4 separate regions of the Homo sapiens genome follow, and all the other regions are linked to region 1. The links are contacts of gene promoters, found by promoter capture Hi-C in blood cells and fetal thymus (Javierre and others, 2016). All regions are on one chromosome and are shown on one strand. Each heading gives the region's core, a stretch centred on a gene start or on the middle of the fragment in contact. The rest is flanking DNA. Distances are from core to core; before and after follow the strand shown.

The links. The method cuts DNA at HindIII sites, captures the fragments that hold promoters and counts their contacts. A CHiCAGO score of 5 or more calls a contact.
Region 2: the fragment with the promoter of IRAK2 here is called in contact with the fragment with the promoter of PRRT3 in region 1 in 2 of 17 cell types (activated CD4 T cells and M2 macrophages); the score reaches 6.2 in activated CD4 T cells.
Region 3: a fragment that was not itself captured here is called in contact with the fragment with the promoter of PRRT3 in region 1 in 3 of 17 cell types (total CD8 T cells, erythroblasts and naive CD4 T cells); the score reaches 6.0 in total CD8 T cells.
Region 4: a contact is called between the fragment with the promoter of CAMK1 here and the fragment with the promoter of PRRT3 in region 1, in 1 of 17 cell types (monocytes). The highest score is 5.1, in monocytes.

Annotation. Positions count from the first base shown.
Region 1 is chr3:9,949,550-9,956,379 of GRCh38, reverse strand. It overlaps PRRT3 (proline rich transmembrane protein 3), which reads left to right and starts at 3,972. Exons shown (of 4, transcript NM_207351.5): 1 at 3,972-4,058; 2 at 6,208-6,830. The coding sequence starts at 6,265. It overlaps PRRT3-AS1 (PRRT3 antisense RNA 1), which reads right to left. Exons shown (of 4, transcript NR_046734.1): 4 at 1,593-1,776. RefSeq lists a silencer at 3,934-4,473. The HindIII fragment of the contact is 9,295 bases long and covers 1-4,486 here.
Region 2 is chr3:10,161,787-10,168,787 of GRCh38, reverse strand. It overlaps IRAK2 (interleukin 1 receptor associated kinase 2), which reads right to left and starts at 3,869. Exons shown (of 13, transcript NM_001570.4): 1 at 3,740-3,869. The coding sequence starts at 3,833. RefSeq lists silencers at 3,555-3,704, 3,905-4,034. The HindIII fragment of the contact is 5,632 bases long and covers 1,680-7,001 here.
Region 3 is chr3:10,191,716-10,198,567 of GRCh38, reverse strand. All of the region lies in intron 2 of IRAK2 (interleukin 1 receptor associated kinase 2), which reads right to left. Among named protein-coding and RNA genes, the nearest start is that of IRAK2, 30 kb to the right of the region's middle. RefSeq lists enhancers at 1,549-1,843, 6,077-6,386. The HindIII fragment of the contact is 326 bases long and covers 3,745-4,070 here.
Region 4 is chr3:9,768,463-9,775,364 of GRCh38, reverse strand. It overlaps CAMK1 (calcium/calmodulin dependent protein kinase I), which reads left to right and starts at 5,418. Exons shown (of 12, transcript NM_003656.5): 1 at 5,418-5,533. It also overlaps a transcript of OGG1 not described here. RefSeq lists a silencer at 5,468-5,647. The HindIII fragment of the contact is 10,493 bases long and covers 1-6,766 here.

The DNA of each region.
Region 1 (6,830 bases), core at 2,723-5,222:
GGCTAAGACTCCAGGAGCCCTTCAGGCTGAATTTGGCCAGTTTGGTAAAAGAGTATAACTCCCCGTGCCCTCAGAGTTCAGGACAGTGGGCAGAGCACAGAGAAGGTTCACCAGCCTGCACTTTCTCCCACCTGTTCTCCCTTTTGTTTATTTTCTCATGCCTGCCAGAGCAACCAGCCAGAATGAAAATGCCAACCAACTGTCCTGGGCTTTGTCTAAGCAGGAGATTTCATCATTGCCAGCCCCATCTTCTTTGCCTTTTCTTTCTCACTCTTTCCTTGGGGAGTCACAACAACTTTCAGCTCTGTTGGTTTGAAGTCAACAGAGATCCAAACTGGAGGGCCTATTTTCATGGACTCAATTAACTCCTAACACAGTAGGGGCCGCCTGGAAGGCCTGGGGTTTCCCTCTCCCCCACTTTCCTCTCTCAGGTTCTTCCAGAGGGGCAGGAGGGTGTCATTACTATTAAGAGCACTGGTTCTGGCCAGGCGTGGTGACTCATGCCTGTAATCCTAGCACTTTGGGAGGGCGAGGCAGGCTGATCACTTGAGGCCAAGAGTTTGAGACCAGCCTGGCCAACATGGCGAAACCCTGCCTCTACTAAAAATACAAAAGCAAGATTCCATCTCAAAACAAAGAGCACTAGTTCTAAAGTCAGGCCTGTGGCTTGGCCCCTTAGTTGCTGCATGACCTTTAACAAGTTATTGAACTTCTCTGAGCTTCAGCTTGCCAGCTGTATAATGAAAAACATAAAACCTAGGGTTGTCATGAGGACTTAAAAAGAATAATGGTGTGTAGCATAGTTTTTGGCAGACCAAGTGCTTGGTGAACAGGAGATATTGACCATCCCTTGTATACTTGGAGTCACCTTCCATTTATCCCCGCCGTCCCAGAGTCTGCAGAAGGATGCTGGGAGCTCCATCTGGAGCTGAGATACTCCCCGTCCACACCTGCGCACCTCGTGTTCCCCGCTTACATTCACCTCCACCCCAGCCAGTCTCCTCTTTCCGCAGGATCAGCTTTCACCTTGGCCTCTAGCCAAAGGGATCCTAATCTCTCTTGCATTTGTTTGGAATCTCAGAATGCCTGCCGGTTGGTGGTTTAGAAACGCGATGGGATTGGGGCCCCTGGTTCCAAAGAGGGCAGCCAGCAAGCAGCCAGATGGCCCTGCATGGACTGGGAGGTCAGGCACTCACACACCTGCCCTTCTCAGGAGAAACTGAGGAAGGGAACCGGGCCAGCTCTGAGCCTGTGGAGGGAATCTCAACATCTCCAAAGGAGGCTCCCAGCGAGTTCACAAGGGGAAGTGAGAGGAAGGATCCAGACTCCTCAGCTTCTGTAGGGGGCCCTAGGACTGCATTCTGGCCAAGACTGCCCACATGGGAACAGACACAGGTCCCCCAAAGGAAGTTAGGATGCTGTCAGGAAGGGAAATGGTTATTGCAAAACCCTCCAAAATGTCAATCAGCTATATGTAGAATCAGGATCCAGTTAACTTCCTACAAGATTGTAACAACAGGCTGGATCTAACAAGATAAACAACAAACAAATGTAGAATCCTACATTAAGAGTCAATAAACCAGTGGTACATGAAGAGATGGGAAGACTTTACTACTAGATCAATTGGGTAACAAAGTAATGTGGCTGCTAGAAACATTAATTCAGTGTGAGGCCGTATGAATGGAGTAGAATCCTGGAAAGGAGAGGTGAAGGTTCAGCTTTACTCCCAACAAGGTTCATTTCCAAGAGTCCTACTTTCAGAGGGGCGTTGTTGAGCTGGTAAGAAGCAAACAGAGAAGAGATTCCACATGGTGAGAACCCAGAATCCTGTCCTGCAAGGAACAGCTGAAAAACTCGGAGTGTTTGTCCTGGAGAAAGAAGACTCTAGAGAAATGAGAGATGCCTTTACAATTCTGAAGTGGCTCCAACAAGGAAAACAGAGCTGGTCAGGTCATGTGTGAAACGGGCAAGGCCTGCACCCTCTCCCAGAGTCAAGCAGCTGAATGCAGGCCCCACCATTTACCAGCCATTAGGGATGGAATATTCTTCAAACTGCAACACGTCAGACACAACTGGGGCCTGAGTATTGCTTTTCTGTGAGAGCTAGAGGTAGGAAGCCATTGGGAGGGAGATGTCAGCTCAGCCCTAGGAAGAATTTTTTCTTTTTCTTTTTTAAGTGAAATTTGATTTTTTATTTGATACTGGGTCTCTTTCTGTCACCCAGGCTGGAGTGCGGTGGTGCGACCTTGGCTCACTGCAACCTCTGGCTCCTGGACTGAAGTGATCCTCCCACATAACCCTCCTGAGTATCTGGGACCCAGGTGCGCACCACCACACTTGGCTAATTTTTTTTTTTTTTTTTTGGTAGAGATGGGGTTTTGCCATGTTGCCCAGGCTGGTCTCGAACTCCTGGGTTCAAGCAGTCCTCCAGCCTTGGCCTCCCAAAGTGCTGGGAATATAGGCATGAGCCATTATACAGGCCAAATTTTCTTCTTCTTCTTCTTCTTCTTTTTTTTTTTTTTTTTTTTTTTTGTCAGTCTCGCTCTACTGCCCAGGCTGGAGTGCAGTGGTCATTGCACTCCAGTGACACAGCTTGTGGTCAATGGACAGAGTGGTCAATGCACTCCAGTGACACTCCAGTGGCCATAGCTTACTGCAATCTTGACCTCTTGGGCTCAAATGATTCTCTGGCCTCAGCCTCTGGAGTAGGTAGGACTACAGGCATGTACCACCACGCCCAGCTAGTTTTTTTGTTTTTTTGTTTGTTTTTTAATTTAAAAAAGTCTCACCATCTTGCCCATGCTGGTCTTGAACTCCTGGGCTCAAAATGATCCTCCTCTCTAGGCCTCCCAAAGTGCTGGGATTACAGGTGTGAGCTACTGCACCCAGCCCTATCTCATTTTTGATAACCACATATATTTCCTGTGTGGCTTTCCCTTAAGGAATTGAGCCTAATAATGGATGTTTAGTATATCAAGAGGTGTTCAAAGAAAGACCAAGAACATTTTGACAGTGTCTACCAGCCCCATATGCAGACCCATAGATTTTACTACCATGCCTCGGCTAGGCAATTATCTGGTAGGTGCACTAGTGTACGTGCACAGTGATGTGTTAAGCAAGGAATGGCCCCTGCTCCATTATCCCTGCGAGCAAAAGGCTAGAAACAACCTATGTCCAATTACAGGGGACAGGATAAAGAACAATAACTAGCTGACCATATGCTGGAATTCTCAACAGTGGATACAAGAAATGATATAGATCTATAGATATTTACATGAAAAATGTGCCAGAATATATTGGAAAGTGAAAAAGACAAATTACAGAAATGTGTACAGTGGCTGGGCACGGTGGCTGACGCCTGTAATCCCAACACTTTGGGGGTCCGAGGCGGGCTGATCACCTGAGGTCAGGAGTTCGAGACCACCCTGGCCAACATGGTGAAACCCTGTCTCCACTAAAAATATAAAAATTAGCCAGGCATGGTTACTAGGGAGGCTGAGGCAGGAGAACCACTTGAACCTGGGAGGCGGAGGTTGCAGTGAGCCGAGATCACGCCACTGCACTCCAGCCTGGGCGACAGAGCAAGACTGTCTCAAAAAAAAAAAAAAAAAGTATACAGTATGATGTCATTTCTATTTAAGATGTACATGTAACTGTACATTGAGAAGAATCTGAAGGATACATACCAAGCTGTAGGTAGGATTTACCTAAAAGGATGTAGGGATATAGAAAGGAAGTGAGCTCCCCGTCCCATGAGGTATGCAAGCAGAGGCTAGCTGCCCCGTTTTCAGGGATGCTGCAGAAGACATTTCCACATCCCTCAGAGATGACCTCGGTTCCACTCTGAGCCCTGACAATCCCTGAGCGAGGGGAAGTCAGGGTTGACAGAAGAGTCCACCCCTAAGGGGAAAGAGTTAAGCAGGGCTGCGCTCCTGTGGGCGGGCTCGCGATCGGCAGCGCCGGGCTCTGTTAGCCGAGTCTGAGCATCTCGGAGGATGCGGCGCGGCGATCGGCTGCAGGGACGCGCGCAAGGTGAACACGGGGGCTGCGGCGCGCAGGTGAGGAGCTGGCCCAGGGAGGGGGCGATGGCGGGACCCCGACGGGGAGCGTGGCCTGCTGCCCCCGTCGCGGGCGCAGGCGACCAGGCCTGCACGGCGCCCACCCCCATCCAGGACACTGCGGGAAGGCGCGGAGCCAGGGAGAGAGGAGACGGAGGAGGAGGAGGAGGAGGAGGAGAGGTAACCCGAGATGGACCAGCTCCGAGGCTGCCCCGCAACGGCCTCGCCCTGCCCCCAGGCCGGCCTCTCCCCAGTCCCTGCGGCAGAGAGATCCGCCACCCCCCACAGCCTCTCCAGCAGAGTGGGAGCCCAGGGCTGGGCAAGCCCCCGCCTTGTCCGCAGGTGCCCACATCTCTTGGGTTGGCAGTGGTAGGCAGATGGCATGTTTATCTTTGGAGGCCCCATTCAGCCGTTTTCTCGGCAAAGCTTTTTGGACCTCCTGTGGAAGATGAGCCTCCGAGGGTTTCACAACCCCGATTGTGTCCACTCAGCTGTGTGACCTTGGGGGAGTTGCTCACCCTCTCTGAACCCCCGTTTCTTCCCCCTGTGAAATGGCTGTTCCCACACCTTGTATTGGGAGGGCGGAGTGACGTGTTGCTAAGCTCAGCGCAGGAGCCTCACTGGGAAAGAACTAAACACAGGAGCACTGTTTTTAGCCAGTACCTGTGTTAGGGGCGTCTCAGCGCACCCCTACTCCCAACCCTGGAGCAAAGCCCTGTCTCTGGGCCCCCAGCACCTAGCCTAGACCAGGAGCAGCCCATGGGGCTCCGTGAATGTTTGAGAAATGAACTAACAAGGCTTTAAGACAGAGTCTAAACTCGAGTTTGGAGGATGGGACTCAAAGGTCTTTGAACCCCTTGAAATTGTTCACAACTTTCGGTGAGCCTGGGTCTTTTCCCCGGGAGAGCACCAGGGGTTTTCAGTGGCTTCTTAAGGTGTCTGTGAGCCACCATGGGTTAACAGCCAGGAAGCTTTGGGGACAGCTGCTCCCCAGAGAGGAAAAGAGCAGGGCCTCTGCCGCCAAACACACCCAGGCTTCAGCTCTCGCACCCTCCATGAAACCTCTCCTGGTGGTGGGGCCCCTTCCTGCCTCCCTGGCCCACTGACAGGCTCTCGAGAACAGGAACTTTTAGGGGATATCCACGTGGGGCCAGGTATATACTGGAGGCTGCAGGTTTGAAATAAGAGGCAGGAGATTATTATAGAATCAGACCAGAGTGACAAGTGCCCAGGAAGATGAGGGAAGGAAGGCGGGAAGAGGAATGTGTAACGCTTGTCAAGCATCAGGTATGAACCTCGCCCATACCTGTTTGGTTATTTGTCTCATGCCTTGAGTTAGGCATGCTTATTATCCCCATTTTACTGATGGGAAAACTATGATGCAGAGAGGTGAAATGACTCCCCCAGGAAATGAAGACACTGGGATTCAAACTCAGGCCCCTCGCCAAAGGCCGGTGCATATTCCTCTCCCTCTCCACGTCTCTCATTTTTGAAGTGGGCCTTTAGGAATAACATTTCAGGCAGGGTGCAGTGGCTCATGCCTGTAATCCCAGCACTTTAGGAGGCCAAGATGGGCAGATTACCTGAGGTCAGGAGTTCAAGACTAGCCTTGCCAACATGGCAAAACCCCATCTCTATTAAAAATATAAAAATTAGCCAGGTGTGGTGGCACATGTCTGTAACCCCAGCTACTCGGGAGGCTGAGGCAGGAGAATCACTTGAACCTGGGAGGTGGAGGTTGCAGTGAGCCGAGATCACGCCACTGCACTCCAGCCTGAGCGACAGAGCAAGACTCCGTCTCAAAAAGAACAGGATTTCAGTAAGTGAAGGGGAAGGGAGAGAGCATTCCCTGCTGACAGAACAGCAGAAGCAAAAGGCATGGGAGCCACACAGTCCAGTGGGTGTTGGAGGACAGATGAACAGCTTGTGGTGGCCAGGGTCTTGGAAGGCCAGGAGAGGAGCTTATGTTCTTTCTTGAGGGAAATGGGGAGCCACTGAAGGTTTTAAAGCAGGGCAAGTGCCACGTCCAGCAATTTTAAAAGCAGAGAAGCTGCTGCCTTGCGTTGCTTTTCTTTCCTGTCAGCCCCTTGAGGAAGGCATGGGGGCCCCCAGCCCTCACATGTCATTCCATGCCCTGTTTTTTTTTTAGGCTCATCCAGTGAGGACTGGAAGGTGGGGGCTTTAGGCCCAGGCATCGGAGTAGACCATGGCCTCCAGCCCATGGGGCTGTGTATGTGGCCTTCTGCTGTTGCTGCTGCCACTCCTGGGGACTGGCCCTGCCCTGGGGAGGGGCTTTCCCAGGCCACTTGAAAACTCCGAAATCCCTATGATCCCTGGAGCCCACCCCAAGGGCTCTGTGGGCTCAGAGCCCCAGGCCTTTGACGTGTTCCCGGAGAACCCCAGAGCTGACAGTCACAGGAACTCTGATGTCCGCCACGCCCCTGCTGAAGAGATGCCTGAGAAGCCTGTAGCCTCTCCCCTTGGCCCAGCCCTGTACGGGCCCAAAGCAGCACAAGGAGCTCAGAGAGAACGACTCCCAGTAACTGATGACCTCCAGATGGCTCAAGGACCAAGCTCCCACGGCTGGACAGGACCTCTGGACTCACAAGAGCTTCTGCAGCAAGAAGCAGTGGCTCCCCACCCAGTGGGCCACCCTCATCTCACTTTCATCCCCACAACTCCCAGACGTCAACTCAGGGTAGCCACAGTTCCTCCCTCCCTGCAGCATGAAGGCCAAGAGGGACAGTGGCCACCTAGAGATGAGGGTCTGAA
Region 2 (7,001 bases), core at 2,620-5,119, 210 kb before region 1:
GGAGCAGGGGAGTGACAGTGGGTGTGGAAGAAGAGGAGGTCAGAGAGGCCAGCACTGGGCAGATGTGTCAGAGTCAACATGCCTGGCAAGGTGTTCAGATCATATCCATCCCAGTGGGGAGCCTCGCAGAGGTATTCTCCAAAGAAGATGTGCAAATGGCCAACAAGCACAGGAAAAGATGCTCCACAGCATTAGTCATTAGGGAAATGCAAATCAAACCACAGTAAGATGCCACTTCACACTGGCTCAGGTGGCTACCATCAAAAAAGCAACAATAAGGCCGGACATGGTGCTCACACCTGTAATCCCAGCACTTTGGGAGGCCGAGGCGGGCAGATCACCTGAGGTTAGGAGTTTGAGACCAGCCTGGCCAACACGGTGAAACCCTGTCTCTACTGAAGATACAAAAATTAGTCAGGCACGGTGGTGCATGCCTGTAATCCCAGCTACTTGGGAGGCTGAGGCACAAGAATCGCTTGAACCCAGGAGGCTAAGGTTGCAGCGAGCCGAGATCATGCCACTGCACTCCAGCCTCAGCGACAGAGCGAGACTCTGTCTCAAAAAAAAAAAAATTAAAAAAAGAAAAAAATAACACATGTTGACAAGGATGTGGAGAAATGGTCATCCTCATACACTGGTGGTTCAGCCACTTTAGAAAACATCTGGTAGCTCCTCAAATAGTTAAACATAAAGCCAGATGCAGTGGCTCACACCTGTAATCCCAGCAATTTGGGAAGGTGAGATGGGCAGATCGCTTGAGCTCCAGAGTTCAAGATCAGCCTGAGTAACATGGTGAAACCTGTCTCTACAAAAAATACAAAAGTTAGCTGGGTGCAGCAGTGCACACCTGTAGTCCAGCTACTCAGGAGACAGGAAGATCGCTTGAGCCCAGGAAGTTGGGGCTGCGGTGAGCTACATTTGCACCACTGCACAAAATCTTGTATGTGAGTGTTCACAGCAGCACTATTCACAATGGCCCAAAAGTGAAAAGAACCCAATGCCCAACAACTGATAAATGAATGAAATGTAGTATATCCATACCATGGAACATTATCCTACAATAAAAAGAAACTGGCTGGGCGCGGTGGCTCACGCCTGTAATCCCAGCACTTTGGGAAGCCGAGGTAGGTGGATTACACGGTCAGGAGATCAAGACCATCCTGGCTAACACAGTGAAACCCCATCTCTACTAAAAATACAAAAAAATTAGCCGGGCATGGTGGCAGGCACCTGTAGTCCAAGCTGCTAGGGAGGCTGAAGCAGGAGAATGGCATGAACCCAGGAGGTGGAGCTTGCAGTGAGCCGAGATTGCGCCACTGCACTCCAGCCTGGGTGACAAAGCGAGACTCCGTCTCAAAAAAAAAAAAAAGAAACTAAGTATTGACGCATGCTACAACATGGATGAACCTCATGTTAGTTGAAACAAGTCAGTCACAGAGCACTATATATTATATGATTCCATTTATATGAAATGTCCAAAATAGGCAATGTCTAAAACTCAGGAAAATGGAAGGAGGGGATTGGAAGTTAACGGGTACAGAGTTTCTTCTTCGGGTGATTAAAATGTTCTAAGATTGATTGTGAAGATGGATACACAGCCCTGTGAATATACTAAATACCACTAAATTGTACTCCTGAAACAGGTGGATTGTATGGTATGTGAATATCTCAGTAAAGCTTTATTTTTTTTTTAAGTCATAGGTATGCCTTCTAATTGAATTTCCTAGAAACAGAAGTTGTTCTGGCATTTGTAACTGAGGGCTGGGCCAATGTGGAAAAAATGAGAGGGAGTCTCACACAAAGTTTGTTCACTGCCCAGGAAACATTCAAAGTAGTGAAGCCAGGTCCAGGAGCAGTGGCTCACGCCTGTAATCCCAGCACTTTGGGAGGCCAAAGCGGCCAAATCACATGAGGTCAGGAGTTCGAGACCAGCCTGGCCAACATGGCGAAACCCCATCTCTACTAAAAACATAAAAATTAGTGGGCGTGGTGGCACATGCCTGTAATCCCAGCTACTCGGGAGGCTGAGGCAAGAGAATCACTTGAATCCAAGAGGCGGAAGCTGCAGTGAGCCGAGATCTCGCCACTGCATTCCAGCCTGGGCCACAGAATGAGACTGTCTCAAAAAAATAAAAATGAAAAGAGAATATTACAACTTATGACTTATAAGAATATTTAACACTTAGGTGTCAGTGCTTTTATACAGTATTTTCATTCCTCACAACTTTATGAAGAAGCTATAATTATCATCTCCAGTTTACATACAGATTCAGAAGCTGAGGCTCAGAGAGGTTAACAAACTGGCCCAAAGTCATACAGCAAGAGCCTGGAATGCAGATCTCCACCTGGAAAGCAGAGACAACAGGCAAGCGGCCTCCCCGCAGAGTCCATGGCCCTCTCCGCCAGTCATCCGTCAGGCACCAACAAACAAAACATATGGAGGCTGTCTGAGTGCCTTCCCACGGAATTATCTAGAACTGTGCACCTTGCAATAGAGTGAAAGTAAGTGCTTGTGCTTAGGCCCCATTATACACACTGAATCTATTAGGACACATCTGATCTCAAAACAGGTTGATAGTCATAAATACTGTGATCAAAACAATGTACACTAAAAGTAAATATCTGATTTTAAAACTATAATGGTAAAGTACATTTAATCACAAATATGATAAATAGGCTGGGCACAGTGGCTCACGCCTGTAATCCCAGCACTTTGGGAGGCCGAAGCAGGTGGATCGCCTGAGATCAAGAGTTCCGGAGGCCGGGCGCGGTGGCTCATGCCTGTAATCCCAGCACTTTGGGAGGCCCAGGGTGGGCGGATCACAAGGTCAGGAGATCCAGACCATCCTGGCTAACACGGTGAAACCCCGTCTCTACTAAGAATACAAAGTTAGCCGGGCGTGGTGGCGGGCGCCTGTAGTCCCAGCTACTCAGAAGGCTGAGGCAGGAGAATGGCGTGAACCCGGGAGGCGGAGCTTGCAACGAGCCTAGATCGCGCCACTGCACTCCAGCCTGGGCGACAGAGTGAGACTCCGTCTTAAAAAAAAAAAAAAAAAAAAAAAAAAATAGTTCAAGACCAGTCTGGCCAACATGGTGAAACCCGGTCTCTACTGAAAATACAAAAAATTAGCCAGGGTGGTAGCGGGCGCCTGTAATCCCAGCTACTCGGGAGGCCGAGGCAGGAAAATCGCTTGAATCCCAGAGGTGGAGGTTGCAGTGAGCCGAGACCGTGCCATTGCACTCCAGCCTGGGCAACAACAGCGAAACTCCGTTTCAATATATATATATATGTTAAATCATAGATCCTTCTAATATACACTAAAACTAAACACACCACACACACACACACACACACCCCCCCAAGAAGTGACAGCACCGTGGGTCCCTACAGGGTCGAGGCTCGCACTTTGCAGGCTGTTGTGGGCTGGATGAGAGGCCACCTGGGGACGTCACCGAGCCAGCAGCGCTGACAGGAGGGCCCCCGTACCCACCGTTCTCTGGACTCAGAGCGCAGTGGCGGCGGCCCCTGCTCGTCGACAGACGTCCTCAGAGACCACGCGGCACCTTCAGGTGACAGGCCGAGGTCCGCGGCGGACCCGGTCCAGGAGGCTCAGCTCGCACGCCCTCGGATCGGGACCCGCTGAACCCGGGTGCCCGAGGGAGCTTGGCGGCCGCTCCAGGCGGGATCGCTGGGGGCTCCGGTCGCCCTGGTCCCCTCCCCTCCCCGGGCCGCACTCACCGAACTCCATCCAGTCCCACTCGCTGAGCGCGTCCATGTTGCGGCACAGGTCGTCCAGCACCCAGGAGGGCAGCTGGTAGATGTAGCAGGCCATGGCACGCTACGGGGCCGGCTCCGGCGCGGGACGACTGGGTCGGACACTGCGGGCTGCGGCTTCTCTAGCCAGGGGCGGACCGGCGGGGAAGTGGGCGGGGCGGGAGGGCACCAGCGTCCCCAGCGGCCACGGGCGGCACGACGGCCCCGCCGGCTCCACCCCAGCGCCGGCCAGAGAATCGGAACTGCGAGGGGAAACTGAGGCCCTGGTGGGAGAAGGCCACACGGGAATTCTGCCGCAGCGGCAGGAGGCCTTCTGACCCCACTTCCATCGGCACTACACCATGCATCATGCGCTCATCAAATACTCCATTAATTACCTACTGTATGCCAGGCAACTCCCTAGGTGTTGGTAATACCTGAATAAGAAACCCTACAGCCGGGCGCGGTGGATCACTCCTGTAATCCCAGTACTTTGGGAGGCCGAGGCGGACGGATCACGAGGTCAGGAGTTCGAGACTAGCCTGGCCAATATGGTGAAACCCCGTCACTACTAAAAATACAAAAATTAGCCGGGCACGGTGGCGCACGCCTGTAGTCCCAGCTACCTGGGAGGCTGAGGCAGAAGAATCGCTTGAACCCTGGAGGCGGAGGTTGCAGTAAGCCCAGATTGTGCCCTTGTACTCCAGCCTGGGTGAAGAGTGAGGCTCTGTCTCAAAAAAAAAAAAAAAAAAAAAAAAAAGCCTACAAAAGCCCTTGCTTTCATAAGACTTACAATCTAGGTGTGGAGAGAAAGACTAACAATAAATAATAAATATAGTATGTTACAGAGTGTCTTAAAGGTAATAAGCACTATTGCAAAAAAAAAAAAAAAGGAAAAAAAGTTGGTTAAAGGGAATCAGGAATTCAGATTGAGCATGGGGAATATTCTATTAAATAGGGTAGTCAGGTAGACTTTACTATAGTAGCTAATATGTATCGTGCAGCTACTATGTGCCAGGCACTGTTGTAGGTGCTGGGAATACCTCTGAAGAGAAGGACAAAATCCTTGTCCTGGAGGGAGACAGACAACAAGCAATAAAAATAGGCAGATAAGCTATGTTGGAGAATGAAAGTAGAAGCCTGGGCAACATAGGAAGATCTTATCTCTACAAAAAACTTTTTTTTTTTGAGACGGAGTCTTGCTCTGTAGCCCAGGCTGGAGTGCAGTGGCGCAATCTTGGCTCACTGCAGCCTCTGCCTCCCAGGTCCCGGTTCAAGCAATTCTCCTGCCTCAGTCTCCCGAGTAGCTGGGATTACAGGCACGCGCCACCACGCCCAGCTAATTTTTGTATTTTTAGTAGAGACAGGGTTTCACTGTGTTGGCCAGGATGGTCTTGAACTCCTGACCTCGTGATCCGCCTGCCTCGGCCTCCCAAAGTGCTAGGATTACAGGCATGAGCCACCACGCCTGGCCTCTACAAAAAATTTTAAAATGAGCCAAGCATGGTAGTGTACACCTATAGTCCCAGCTACTCAGGAGGCTAAGGTGGTAGGATCTCTTGAACCCAGGAGTTTGAGGCTGCAGTGAGCTATGACTGCACTGCAGCCTGAGTGACAGAATGAGACCCTGTCTCTGAAAAAAAAAAAAAAAAAAAGAAAGAAAAGAAAGAATAAAAGTAGAGGGTGGTAAAAGGGAGTGCAAGTGGCCAATTGCATTATCTTAGATGATACTATTACTGGGAAAAAAGCAGAGTATGGTGCAGGGGACTGCAGGACAAACTGGATTATTAAATAGGGTATAAGGGGCTGGGTGCGGCGGCTCCCACCTATAACCCCAGCACTTTGGGAGGCAGAGGCAGGCAGATCGCTTGAGCCCAGGAATTCGAGACCAGCCTGGGAAACAGAGCAAGACCCTGTCTCTACAAAAATTAGCCAGGCATGGTGGCATGTGCCTGTAGTCCCAGGTACTTGGGAGGCTAAGGTAGGGGGATCACTTGAGCCCAGGAGGTGGAGATTGCAGTGAGCCAAGATTGCACCACTGCACTCCAGCCTGGGTGAGAGTGAGACCCTGTCTCTAAATAAACAAAGAGGGTACAAGGAACAGAATTTATAGTGTGTGTATACATATATATATATATATATATATATATATATATATATAAAATACACACACACATATATAAAATAGCTAGTATTTATTGAGCACTTACTATGTGTAGCCTTCACCTGGGTTACTTTACTTACTCCTTACAATGACCCTCTGAGGTAGGTATGGTTATAGCCCCATTCTACAAATAAGGAAACTAAGGCACAGAGAGGTTAAATAATATGGCTAAAATCATTTGAACCTAAGTATTCTGACCCCAGGCTCTCCATCACCACTGGCTAAAGTATATTGTAGATACAGATACATTTATCTGTATCTACAATGTACTTTGCAAAAATGATCTTATGTCATTCTTACAAGCCTATACTATAGATATTATTATCCCCATTTTACACAGAAGTAAATAGATTCCAAGAGGTTAGGCGAGGTCACGAAGGGCAGATAAGTAACTAGAGTAGGTACCACTGTATAGCTGTGGCCGTCAGCTATGGAGTAGCGCTGCAAAAGGAGGAAGCTGAAATCAAAGTGAGAAGTCCTAGGGCCAAGTTGCAGTTCTGCCACCAACAGGCTTTGTGACTCTGGACAACTCATTTCATTCGTCAAGCCTTGTTTCCAGCATCTGTAAAGTGGGCCTGCTCCTTCCTACTGCTTAGAGTTGTGAGGGGAGTGGAATAAATCAAATTATGTAGCCTATATAGAACACCTACTACAGGGCTTTCCTCGCACAGAGAATGTGCCCAAAAAATGGTAGCTGTCATTAGTGGTCTTGAAAAGGCACCCACTGGCCTTGGAGTCCTATCAAGTTTGGAGACCTGGTTCAGCCACTCTCCGGCTCTTAGTCCTTTGAGCCAGTTCTGTTTTCCCTTTTGGAAACTGGATCTCCTGCTGCAGCCACTTGGAAGGATTGTTATGAAGCCTAAATGGACTCCAAAACGCTCAAGATCAACTGTGAAGTGCTGAGCCCAGTAAAGGATTACTATTATGTCCTCCTTGATGTTGAAAGTGGGACATATTTCAGTGTTCTGAGACTACTTTTCAAGTGAAGTCCTGTGTTTTCAGCAGTGGCTGAAGGTGGACTTGGGAACTGTAATGATTGTTTGCCATAGGCTGGGTGGAGAAGCATCTCCATCCCAGGCACAC
Region 3 (6,852 bases), core at 2,658-5,157, 240 kb before region 1:
AGTATATTGAGGCTCAGATAAGTGAAATGACTTGTGTCAAGTAAAACAGCCAACAACAGTCAAACCTGGGACTGGTTTCACTGTCTCCCACCCAGCTAGGGCAGAACTATTGAAACACCACTGCCATCACTGCCACCACCAGCCCCAATTCCCCCAGGGGCAGACGCCCCAATCCCCAGACAAACAGGAACAAAGGGGTGATCACTGACTTCCCCAGGGTGGGAGGAGTTGGGGAGACATCGGGAATGCACAAAAATAACAACAAGGCTGAATGTCGGGGGGTGATGAGTGGCTTCGTCCTTGTGTTTTCTTTACTGTCACTGACATTTTAAATAAATTTTCGTTTTGTTTTGTTTTGTTTTGTTTTTTGAGACGGAGTCTCGCTCTGTCGCCCAGGCTGGAGTGCAGTGGTGTGATCTTGGCTCACTGCAAGCTCCGATTCTCGGGCTCACGCCATTCTCCTGCCTCAGCCTCCCGTGTAGCTGGGACTACAGGCGCCCACCAGCACGCCCGGCTAATTTTTTCTATTTTTAGTAGAGACAGGGTTTCACTGTGTTAGCCAGGATGGTCTCGATCTCCTGACGTCATGATCCGCCCTCCTCAGCCTCCCAAAGTGCTGGGATTACAGGCGTGAGCCACTGCGCCCGGCCTGAGTGGCTTCTTCCTTGTGTTTTCTTTACTGTCACTGATATTTTAAATAATTTTTTTTTTTTTTTGAGACGGAGTCTCACTCTGTCGCCCAGGCTAGAGTGCAGTGGCACAATCTCGGCTCACTACAAGCTCCGCCTCCCAGGTTCACGCCATTCTTCTGCCTCAGCCTCCCGAGTAGCTGGGACTATAGGCGCCCACCACCACACCCGGCTAATTTTTTGTATTTTTAGTAGAGACAGGGTTTCAGCGTGTTAGCCAGGATGGTCTCGATCTCCTGACCTCATGATCCGCCCTCTTCAGCCTCCCAAAGTGCTGGGATTACAGGTGTGAGCCACCATGCCCGGCCCTCCTTTGGACAACTTTTATGAAGACTAATGGAGACACTGCTTAGCTCAAAATATGGGACCTTTATTTCTGTGGTGGTTATAGTCTTAAAATATTGGTTATCTCTTAAATAGTCCACATATTGAGGATAAGAAGAGTAGGATGAGAGTCTTTTAGTTTTCTTTTTCTTTTTCTTTTTTTTTTTTTTGAGACAGAGTCTTACTCTGTTGCCCAGGCTAGAGTACAGTGGAGGAATCTCGGCTCACTGCAACCTCTGCCTCCTGGATTCAAGCGATTCTCCTGCCTCAGCCTCCTGAGTAGCTGGGATTACAGGTTTGCAACACCACATCCAGCTAATTTTTTTTTTCTGTATTTTTAGTAGAGATGGGGTTTCACCATGTTGGCCAGGCTGGTCTTGAACTCCTGACCTCAAGTGATCAACCTGCCTCGGCCTCCCAAAGTGCTGGGATTACAGACATGAGCCACCGCGCCTGGCCTGTTTTATATTGTGGGGTTTTTTTCTTTGTGATTTATTCATATCATAGAATTTTTCAACAAAATCATTATGCATTATTTACACAGTAAAGTATACTTCTTTTAAAAAAAATCAGTTAGCAAGCTAGCTAAAGTAATGACGAGAACTGAGTCTTCCAAGCTAGTGTGAGTAGCGTTTGCCCTGGGGACCCCTCTGGCTCCAGTGAGCAGACGATGAATCAGCCCTTCATGAGATTCAGATCCACCTCACTTCTGTTTTTCACCAACGAATGTCCACGTTGTGTATTGATACGTTCAATTCAAGCACCCTCCCCACAACCCTGGAGATCTCAAGTCAGGAAGCTGAGGCTCAGCGGGGAACAAGACCTGCCCAAGGGAAACAGGGAGGCAGGCAGCACTGAGGCAGGAAGGCGGGGTCTCCTCCCAGAACCACTGACGTAAGGGCACCCAGAGAACATGCACTTCTCTCCCAACCTGGGCTCCACGGGCACTTCAGTGGTTCTATAGGCCACACCCCCCCATCCTGATTGCCATCAGGCCAAGGCCTTTGTGGCTGAAACTCGGAGTCTAGAAGCCAGTTTCTCTCCAACAAGGGCCTTGCCTGCAGGAATCACAGGATCACTGTCTGCCTCATGGCATCCCACTGCCTTCCACAGGCCCAGGAGGAGAATAAACAGTCCCTAGGCCGGGCACAGTGGTTCACACCTATAATCCCAGCACTTTGGGAGGCCAAGGAGGGCAGATCACCTGTGGTCAGGAGTTCTGGACCAGCCTGGCCAACATGGCGAAACCCCGTCTCTACTAAAAATACAAAAATTAGCCAGGCGTGGTGGTGCACACCTGTAGTCCCAGCTACTCAGGAGGCTGAAGCAGGAGAATCGCTTGAACCTGGGAGGCGGAGGCTGCAGTGTGCTAAGATTGTGCCACTGCACTCCAGCCTGGGCAATAGAGCAAGACTCTGTCTCAAAAAACAACAACAACAGAAAACCAGTCCCTTGTACAGAATGACAATGAACAATGTCGGGGTGAGTGCTGATTCAAGCACGGGTCTGGAACAGAGCTGTCGCTCCCAGGGTGCACAGAAGTGAAAGCTCTGCCTGTGCTCCCTTGGAAGGCTACCCCCCGCCACTCCCAGTCCTCATCTTTCCCAGCCTCCCCTCTCTGGCAGGGAGAGACTGCCTCTCTCCCTCCACCCTCCCTCCTCAAACTGCCTCAAGTGGGGCTTATGCTCCTGGAAAGGCTTGTCATCCTTGTGACATCTGTGTCAAAAGGGCAGCAGTGGCTCCCCTGGCTCAGGGCCGGCTGGGCTCGCTGAAGTCACTTCCCAACAGTGACCTCCTGCAGAGGCCAGGCCCGCAACAGTATAAAATGCTCCCTAAAGGTCTCACCTACACCCAGAACCGCCCATGATCCCAGCAAATGAGGCACCTTCTCCTTGTCGGAGGCCTGCCTGGCTGAGCCTCATTGTTCTCATCACAGTAAAACGGGGATGAGGGTGATACTTACAGCCTTACTTAACTTCAGTGTCCTGTTCCTTTTTTTTTTTTTTGAGACAGGGTGTTGCTCTGTCACCCAGGCTATGCAGTGGTGTGATCACAGCTCACTGCAGCCTCAAACTCCTGAGCTCAAGCTATCCTCCTCTCTTAGCCTCCCATGCCGCTGGGATTACAGGCAACACCACGCCCAGCTAATTTTTAATTTTGTGTAGAGACAGCATCTCACTATGTTGCCCAGCCTGGGCTCAAACTCCTAGGCCCCAGTGATCCTCCCACCTTGTCCTCCCAAAGTGCTGGGATTACAGGCCTGAGCCACTGCTCCCAGTCCAGTGTCCTATTCAGGGTAATGTTTTGTTCAGCACAAATCTTTGCCTCTCTGTCAAAACACATTTGGCAGGAACATCAAGGCCACCAACCCATTTGTGGCCGACCTCTGTGGGCTCCACCCGTGGGGAAGATAAAAAATGTCATTATGTTTTCATCCTAAAGAGAGTCCAGCTTTTCTCTTTCTTTTTCTTGTTCCTTCTGCAGTGACATGCGGTGGCCCCACCTGGCACCACAGGGCATTTGGAAGTGAGCAGGAGTGAGGAACAGATGGGGAGGGGCGGTGTCGGCAGGGCTACCTGTGACCAGACCTGTCAGCACACTTGGGGCTAACATCCACCCTCCCACACAAGAGGCACCAGGTCACACCAGCCACGGATGTAAGCCAACAGAGCCCCATGTCAGCCCCAACAAGAAGTTCTGGTTTCCTGTGAAACCCCCATCTTCTCAAGCTTTGAGTTTTTAGATGTCTTTAAAATGCAAGCAATAAATGGTGCGTATAAACATGAACCGCCCTCATCTCCACCCTGGAGCTGCCGGCATGGTCTGAGCTGGGTGGACAGGCAGGCCCATGCATGCCTGTCCCACTGTCCAAACATGAAGATGGAGAAAATGGCCTCTGTCCTCATCCCTCCAAACCTGCTCCCTGCTAGCTAGAAAGACGCAACGCCCACTCATTCAGGCTGGCACACCAGAGAGCTAGTGAAATAAAAATAGAACACCAAAGGCAGGATGAGGCAAAGGAGGCCAAATGCCTACAAGAAAGGGCTGTGACAAGCTTTAACTCTCGCACTGAGCTTCCTATCTGCCAAGGCCAAGGCTCAGGAGTGAGCTGCTCACGGACTTCTTATCACAGATAGACAGGGGCAGCCTCAGGCTTCCAAGACAGCACTCTTTCCTCCCAGGATTAAATTCTCAAGAGAATTCCACACATAAAGTTGATTCTGCAGGATCATGAGATCCAAAAACACAGACTGTGATCAAAGAGTAGAACTAGGATCACAAGAGTAAGCGTGGGGAAGCGTCGGCTCTGGCTTGAGCCAGACCCAAGCTCTGCGATTCCAGCTTCACGCCCAGGCACAGACCTCCTAACCCTCTGAGCTTCATGCGCCTCTCCTGTGGAATCAGAATAATAACCCCACACCTCCCAGGGCCGTCCCAGGGCTCCATGATGACAAATGTGAAGTGGCTGGCCCAGGGCAGGGGCCCACAACACTGTGCAAACAGCCACCCTCCTTCAGTTCTGCCAGAAAGGTGCAGATAGAAAAGAACCTCTGATTCCCAACTCGGGCCTCCGAAGGAAGCATTTAGGGTGGAAGGCTATTTTTAACATTTTAAACACTCTAATGGAAACCGATTCTAGGTGGGCAGCAACTTGGTGCACAGTCCCGAGAGGTACAGTGGCCATGAGAGCAAAGTAACATAGGAGCCCAGCAGCAGGGGAGGTGGGGGCCTGTGCCCACGCCATTGGCAGCCAGCCTCAGTCACACACTGGAGGTGGGCAGCCCAGGGTTCTCCCTGCTGGGACCCCCAGGGATAGGAAGGGGACGCAGGTGACGGAAGGAACAGCTAATCTATAGCTTAGGTGGCCACAGGCACCAGAAGGTTGACACGGCAGTTCTCAGACAGAGTCTGGATTTTTTGTTTTTGTTTTTGAGGCAGAGTCTTGCTCTGTGACCCAGGCTAGAGTGCACTGGTGCAACCATAGCTCACTGCAGCCTCTACCTCCCAAGTTCAAGCAATCCTCCCACCTCAGCCTCCCAAGTAGCTGAGACCACAGGAGCACGCCACCACGCCAGGCTAATTTTGTTTTTGTTTTTGTTTTTGTTTTTTTTTGGTAGAGACAGGGTTTTGCCATATTGCGCAAGCTGATCTCAAACTCCTGGGCTCAAGCAATCTACCTGCCTTGGCCTCCCAAAGTTCTGGGATTACAGGTGTGAGCCACTGCACCCAGCCTGGAATCTGGATATCCGTGAAAGCTGCCTTGCTGAGGCTGAGAACCCACAGTGATGAGGGCTGAGTCCCAGATACAAGGAGGAAATGGGGGAGGGGCAGAAGCGCTTCTCTGTGCCCCTGTCATGGTTCACCAGAGCTGGTTGCCAGGCATGATTTCTTTTTCTCTCTGATTTGTTTTCGGAATGCCTGTGCTCTTCCTAATGAGCATGAATCACTGATGCCACGGAAGGCAAATGAACTCCCGCAGTCTGGAGTGTGTCCTGCAGTCAGGCTCACCAGCAGGGGGATCCTCCTAAGCCTTGGCTTCCTCATCCGACAAATGAGATGTGGAAGTGGACCCCCGACCCGAGACCAGCCATGAGGATAAAAAAATTAACACCCAGCAGATCTAAGCTACCATCATTTGCTATAGTCTCGCTCTGTTGCCCAGGCTGGAGTACAGTGGCACGATCTCTGCTCATTACAACTTCTGCCTCCTGGGTTCAAGCGATTGTCCTACCTCACCCTCCCGAGTAGCTGGGATTACAGGCAGACACCATCACGCCCGGCTAATTTTTGTATTTTTAGTAGAGACGGGGTTTTGCCATATTGGCCAGGCTGGTCTCGAACTCCTGACCTCAGGTGATCCGTCCGCCTTGGCCTCCTACTACTGTTATTATAATGACCACTCTAACTCTAGGTCAGGCTTTTTTTCCTAAGTTCTTGCCCATATCTGTGGCCTATTTAATTCAGGTAACAGCTCTGGGGGATAATTGCTACCAAGTATAAGGTAGTTGTCTTATATCTGAAGAAAGCGAAGCCTAGAATGCAGATTTATTTATTATGTGCTTGTTTATGGCCCAGTTCCTTCAGGAGAAAGGACTAAAGGATGTTTATGGGTGCTGGGCCTTTGGCTGACGGGGCCTGGGCCGTCACACTAGCTGCCTGAGAACATTTCACACGGTGGCAAATCCAGGAGCTGTTGGAGCAGAGGGGACTCAGAGCTGGCAACAAGGTCTTTCCTGGGTGAGCACACTCTGGAAATTCCCCCCAACCCTTCACGCCCGTCAAACTACACAGTAATTTGTTCTTAGGCTGACTCATGTGGCCAGAATAGATCCCTTCCAGAACAAACAAAAGTGATTCAGCTATAACTAAAGCACCCTCGTGCCAGCTGGCTCTATCAGGGACAAACACAGCTTTCCGCGCCCTCTCTTTTCCTTTCCCTCCTAATCCCTGGGTTTGGCCCTCCAGGCCATACACAGTCACACACAACACACAACACACACACACACACACACACACACACACACACACACTCCCAACTCAAGCTAGACCTGAAATGAGGCAAACCTGAGAGCACAGCCTGCCTTCCTAATTGTGCGATCCCTGGTTCTCCACTGAACTTGTACTCCACCTGCTGCTGAAATGACTCATTCTTTCTCATTCATTCATTCATTCATTTTGTGTTAGGGAATGGGGAATCCTTTATCAAAACTGCCGTAATACTGACATTAAGCTAGTTAAATAAAAGACATCTAATTATAAACTGGGAGGTGCTCTATGCTGAAAACAAACTCGAGGGAGGGGTGCCTGATGGACCTACTTCCATAGGCTGGCCAGGAAA
Region 4 (6,902 bases), core at 4,169-6,668, 180 kb after region 1:
CATTGAAAATACTCTCCATACATTTGATAGCAAATGGAAATTAAGTTTCACATGGTGATTTCTTATCAAAACCTTTAATCAAAAGCTCAGGGCATATTGTTTTTTGTTTTTTTGGGGTTTTTTTTTGAGACAGGGTCTTGCTCTGTTGCCCAGGCTGGAGTGCAGTGGCATAATCTAAATCACTGCAACCTCAGCCTCCCAGGTTCAAGTGATTCTCCTGCCTCAACCTCCCGAGTAGCTGGGGTTACAGGCGTGTGCCACCACGCCCAGCTAATTTTTGTATTTTTAGTAGAGACAGGGTCTCACCATGTTGGTGAGAACTCCTGGGCTCAAGTGATCCTCCTGCCTCGGCCTCCCAAAGTGCTGGGATTATAGGCATGAGCCCAGCCAAAAAAAAAAAAAAAATTACTCAAACATCTTGGAGCATATAGCCTTGTCCTAATTTAGGATTACTTCTCTGAAATTGATTGCCAGAAGAGGAGTCCCTGAATCAAAAGGCCTCGACATTATTTAAGCCTTTGATGCATATTGCCAAATTGCTTTCCAAAGGATCTTTAGCAAATCATTTTCCCACCAGAATGTAGGACTACTCATTCCTCACATCAACATCAGCCTTCAGTGTTACCAGCTTTTTAAACTTCAAATTTGAAAGGCTGCAAATGACCTTCTATTTTGTACTTTTTTGTATCACTAGTGAGATACAAAATGTCCTGTGTTTACTGTGTTTTATCTGTATCCTTTGACCATTTATTAGGTTCTTACTGTTTGTTATCAATCCTGTGTGCTGTTTATATAATAAATATATTAAGCCATTGTCTACAAAACATTTCCCCAGTCTGAAGTTTGCCTTTCATTTTTGGCTACCATTTCGGAGTAGAGTAGGGTTTTCACTTTTTGAAAAAAAGTTAAAAAAAAGTAACAAAAGTTAAAGTTTTGTTTTTTTTTTTTTTTTTTTTGAGACAGAGTCTGGCTCTGTCATTCTGGCTGGAGTGCAATGGTGCAATCTCAGCTCAATGCAGTCTCCGCCTACCAGGTTCAAGTGATTCTCCTGCATCAGCCTCCCGAGTAGCTGGGACTACAGGCATGCGCCACCACACCTGGCTAATTTTTGTATTTTTAGTAGAGATGGGGTTTCACTATGTTGCCCAGGCTGGTCTTGAACTCCTGACCTCAGGTGATCCTTCTGCCTTGGCCTCCCAAAGTGCTGGGATTCAGGAGTGAGTCACCACGCCCAGCCAAAGAATTTTAAAAAATAAACCTGTCCATCTTTTCCTTGTTATTTCTTCCATTTTCTCTAATCTTAGTTAACTACTCACTCTTTCAATAGCTTCTTTTCTGTCAGGTTCAAGAATTCATGGAGGCCAGCCATACTGGCTCACGCCTATAATCCCGGCACTCTGGGAGACCCAAGCAGGAGGATCACTTGATTCCAGAGTTCCAGAGAAGTCTGGGCAACAGAGGGAGTAGAGACCCGATATCTACAAAAAATAAAAAACTAAAAAAAATTAGCCAGGTATGGTGGTACACACCTGCAGCCCCAGCTACTCCGGAGGCTGAGGTGGGATGATCACTCCAGCCTGGGAAGTCAAGGCTGCAGTGAGCCATGATGGCGCCGCTGCACCACAGCCTGGGTGACAGAGTGAGGCCCTGTCTCAAAAAAATAATAAATAAATAAATAAATAAAAGAATTGATGGAGATGTCTGCACTGTTTAGCCATTCAAAAAAAAAAAAAAGAAGAAAAGATCATCCCCCTTTTCCCTGAGAACATTTGACTTTCCTTGACTCACCTTTTTTTAAATTATTATTCATTTATTTATTTTTGAGACGGAGTCTCGCTCTGTCGCCCAGGCTGGAGTGCAGTGGCGCGTGGTCTCTGCTCACTGCAAGCTCTGCCTCCCGGGTCCACGCCATTCTCCTGCCTCAGCCTCCTGATTAGCTGGGACTACAGGCGCCCGCCACCACGCCTGGCTAATTTTTTGTATCTTTAGTAGAAATACAAAAGATAACAGGGTTTCACCATGTTAGCCAGGATGGTCTCGATCTCCTGACCTCATGATCCACCCGCCTCAGCCTCCCAAGGTGCTGGAATTATAGGCGTTAGCCACCGCACCCAGCCACTTTTTTTTTTTTTTTTTGAGATGTAGTCTTGCCGTGTCACCCAGGCTGGAGTACAATGGTGCAATCTCAGCTCACTGCAACTTCCATCTCCTGGGTTCAAGCAATTCTCCTGCCTCAGCGTCCCAAGTGGCTGGGGATACAGGTGCATGCCACCACACCCAGCTAATTTTTGTATTTTTAGTAGAGACAGGGTTTCACCACGTTGGCCAGGCTGGTCTTAAACTCCTGACCTCAGATGATCTGCCCACCTTGGCCTCCCCACGCCTGGCCCTTCACTCACTTTTTGATTAGTACTTTGAAATGTGCTCATCGGGACTGGGGGCTGCAGAAGGATGTATATGTATACGCATCCAAAAAATCTGGAAGAATTGTACTAAAAATGTGAACACTGGTTGTCTCTGGTTGGTGGGGGCCCGGCTGAGAGTGTTGTGTTATTCTTGCCTCCCTCGCACCCCTAATTCCTTTGGACAAGATACCTCTTCCATTCCTTATGGCTGCCCATTACAGTACACTTGCTCAATATAGCACCCTAATTCTCCTGGCAACAGTTTTGGAGGCCAAGGGGTGAACATGTCACTCTATCACTCAAGCAGAGCCAGAGTCCTTCCCTGAGAATGAGATAGGAAATTGGGAGGATGCTTTCCTTCCACTGTGTTTAATTGGAAAGCTGGGGCTGCCTCACTCCATGTTTCCTGCCAACTAGAAGTTCACTCTGGAGAGAAAAAGAGGCCAACGTGTGAAGAAAAATCAAGACAAGGAGAGAGGAGGGAAGACAGAGAAAGCAAATCCTATGAGTACTACATCTCCAGTTCCAGTCTCCAAGCCCCTAATCTCTGGTGTTTTTCCTGCAATCTTGTGCCAGCTATTGTGAACTATAGATTCCTCTTGGATGAAGCTGGTTTAGGTTGGCATTCTGTCACTTGGGAAGCGAAAGAATCTCATCAGTTAGTCTGTGTGTGTTTTCAATACATTATGGAATTTTCCTGCAATGACCATGTATCACTTGTTCAATAGAAATACTAAGAAAGTAAAGATAATGTGTTTGTTAAAGAAAAGAAAACACGAGGCCTCTCAGAAATGCTCAAAAGCAGGAAAAATGTAAAGCACACCATAGAAGCTGTACAAGTCAGCTGGGCGCGGTAGCTCATGCCTGTAATTCCAGCACTTTGGGAGGCTGAGGCAGGTGGATCACCTGAGGTCAGGAGTTCGAGACCAGCCTGACCAACATGGTGAAACCCCCATCTCTACTAAAAATACAAAAATTAGTTGGGCGTGTTGGTTCACGCCTGTAGTCCCAGATACTTGGGAGGCTGAGGCAGGAGAATTGCTTGAACCCAGGAGGCGGAGGTTGCAGTGAGGCGAGATGGCACCATTGCACTCCAGCCTGGGCAACAGAGGGAGACTGTCTCAAAAAAAAAAAAAAAAAAAAAAAAAAGAAGTTGTACAAGTCCTCGAAAGGACAGAGGTCATCTTATCACCCAGGGGGTGTTGTCATCAAGATGAACAGGAATTTGTGGTAAAAGAACCCCTAGCTCAGTGGGTGTGCTTGGTGGGTATAGGGGAGAGTGGGGGCTCAGCCCTGAGCAGGAAATGTATTTTTCCATGAACTAAGGAGTCTGAGATACTGAGATTTGGAAGATGGATCCCTTAACCCCTCATCCCTGGCCAAATCAAGTCCTCTCTCTGAGTCTCAGTTTACACTGAGTCTAGCTCTCATGTTTTGAATAGTGTTCTAGGCACTTCATATCATTATATCATAGAATTCTCAGAACTCTGAGTCAATCTTCAATATTCCCATGTTCCCGAGTAAGAAACTGAGGTTCGGAGAGGTAAAGCATGACCAGGATCAGTTAGACTCCAAAGCCTTTCCAGGAACCTCAGCTATCTTCCTCTCTCATCTGTAAGATGGGCATAATAAATTGGCCAGGTGCAGTGGCTCATGCCTGTAATTCCAGAACCTTGGGAAGCTGATTGGGGAGGATTGCTTGAGCCCAGGAGTTTGAGACCAGCCTGGGCAATATAGTGAGATCCCCATCTCTACAAAAAATAAAAAAGCCAGGTGTGGTGGCACGCACCTGTAGTCCCATCTACATGGGAGGCTGAGGTAGGAAGATGACTTGAGCCCAGGAGTTTGAGGCTGCAGTGGGCCGTGATCATGCCATTGCACTCCAGCCTGGGTGACAGAGCAAGACCCTGTCTTAAAAAAAAAAGAAAAAGAAAAAAAGAAGAAGAGAAAGAAAGAAAAAAGAAAGAAAGAAAGAGAAAAAGGAAATGAGCTGGGCATAAGCACTGTTCTCTCCCCATCACCAGCTGGAACATGCAAGAATTCAGGAGTAGGGAGTGGCACTTGGAGGCCCTTGGAGGTGGAGTGGGGTCCCAAGCAACGTGCCTCCTCCGGCTGCCCCCAGTTCAGCCCCATCCCCAATTCCTGCGAGTTGCTCCCCCCGCCCCCTCTTTCCACTCGGCACCAAATTTCTTCCCAAGGAAGGCCTTGAGCAAACCGACCTTTGGCCTCTTGCCTGCCGTCCTAGTTGCAGGCTCTCTCCCCTAACCTGGACCCCAGCCATCAAACTCTGGAGCCCCGCCAGTCACGTGACACCTCGGTCCTTTTTGGCCTGTTTCCTTCAGGATCCCGATTTAACTTCCTCCTCCCCAATTCCCTCTGCCCCCAATACCTCTAGGCACCACCACCCGCTCTGAGGAGCAAGTGTCTGGGGCTGAAGCCTCAGCTCCATCTTGCAGAGGAACCGGGGCCTCAGTCTTCCCACCTGTCAAGTGGGGCCCACACCCTGCGACCACCTCCACTCTCTTCATTGCCTAGTCTTGCCCGGTCCTTCCCCACTCCCTCACTCCCCCATCCCCCACCAGACTCCCGTGCAGTTCCAGGGCCTGTTTCCCTTCAGGGCACGGAGAAGGGAGACAGAGCCCTAAGGGAGGTCGCAGAACTGGTCTGAAAGAAAATCCACCAGGCCACAGGGTGAGTTTGGCCGGCCTCTAGCTTCAGACAGACGGGGTTCGAATCCTGCTTTGCTTCCGACCACCCGCTGATTTGAAAATCATCTCTCCGGGCCTCAGTTGTCCCCTCTGTGAAATGGACCCCGCTTAAGACCAAGGGCGGGAAGCGTCCAGCAGGAGATCTCTGACCAGAAGCAGGGAGATGGCCTCCACCCGTGCCCCTTCCCCAGCCTTGGAGCGGTGCCTCGCCTCCCAATCCCGGGTCCCTCCGCCGCAGGCTCCACCTCCACTGACATCAGAGCCGCAGGCGGGCGGAGAGAGCCGCCGAGCCGAGCCGAGCCCCAGCTCCAGCAAGAGCGCGGGCGGGTGGCCCAGGCACGCAGCGGTGAGGACCGCGGCCACAGCTCGGCGCCAACCACCGCGGGCCTCCCAGCCAGCCCCGCGGCGGGGCAGCCGCAGGTACAGCCGGGCCCCCCATCCCTGCACCCCTGGGCGCTGCGTGGGGGCGGTGGGAGCCCCTAGCCTCTGGGTATCCTTTCCCAAGGAGTGGCCACTGGGCACTCTCCCGGGCGGGCTGGACCCTGAGGGGCAGGGCTGGGCCTTTCTCCACCTCTGTCCCAGGCCCAGCAGGTGCCAGGCGGGCCTATGGGACACTGAGTGGGTAATAGAGAAGGGGGCCTGTGTGAGCGCCTTCAGCTGGGCCTGACTGGAAGGGCGTGGGCATTTGGAGGTATCCATGGGGTGGGGGGGCTTGCGGAGTGTACTGTCTTAGGACAGGCGTGTGGGTCAGACATGGGTGGAGGATCTGGGAATCTGTGTGTTTTTTGTTCCAGAGGGGTGTCCACGTGTTTTGTGTGCTGGTATTTGGCTCTCAGGGTCTTAAGTCAGAGTTAGGAGGGGGTGTACAATTGTGTACTGAGGATGTTTGGAGTTAGGTGTGTAAGGACTTGGGGTTTGGTTTGGAATACAGGAGCTTCCAGGGGATGGGGTAGAGGAGCTGGAGGGTGTAGGGTACGTCTGGTATATGAGGGTGTGTGTGTGTGTGTCTGGGTGTCATCTTGTGTGGGTGCGGGTGGATGTGTGTTTTGGGGTGTAAGAGGGAGCTGGGTGAGGGATGTTTGGATGGACAGGCAGGTGTTCGGGTGCAGGGCTGTCTGGGGCACTGTGTGGTGTGGACATGTGTGCTGATGTCTGGGAGTACATGTATGATCAGGTGTCACGGGATGTGGATACAAGGCGTACTGGATCTGGGAGGCAGGTGTTTGAGTTCAGGGCTGTGGAGGGGGCTTGGTGTGGCATGTCTGCTACAGGGATGTGTGTGGATCTGTGAGGGTTGTATTTGGTAGGCCTCCATGTGGGTTTCAGACTCTGCCTCTAGAGCTTACACTCGAGTCTCCTTTCCTAGAAGATTCTGCCCCTGGATGGGTGGGCAGGGTCCCCTGGGAAAAAGGTCCTGTTCCAGGAGTGGAATCTCACACCAGAGGCCCTAGTCAGGGCACCTTCTCCTCATTCTCCCTTAGAGAAAAAGAGAGAAGGAAAGTGCTCTCCCTGAGGTCACAAAGCATGCTGGGCTCTGTTTTGGCCTCATCTGTGGATGGGTTGGGAGGCTGTGTTCTCTGAATGGGGCCCATTCTGGCTTCATATTGGAAGTACCAGCCAAGGCCATTCGATGGCCTTTGCCCTCAGCAAGCTTAGCTGGGGGCCCCAGGCCAGGTGTCATTAGGGCCTCTGGAGCCAGCCTCTACCTAACTCCAACCTCAGTCTCCCCATTCTTCATCTGATAAATGGGAGAGAACTCCCACCCTCTCCTGCTGGATGAGACAGACCT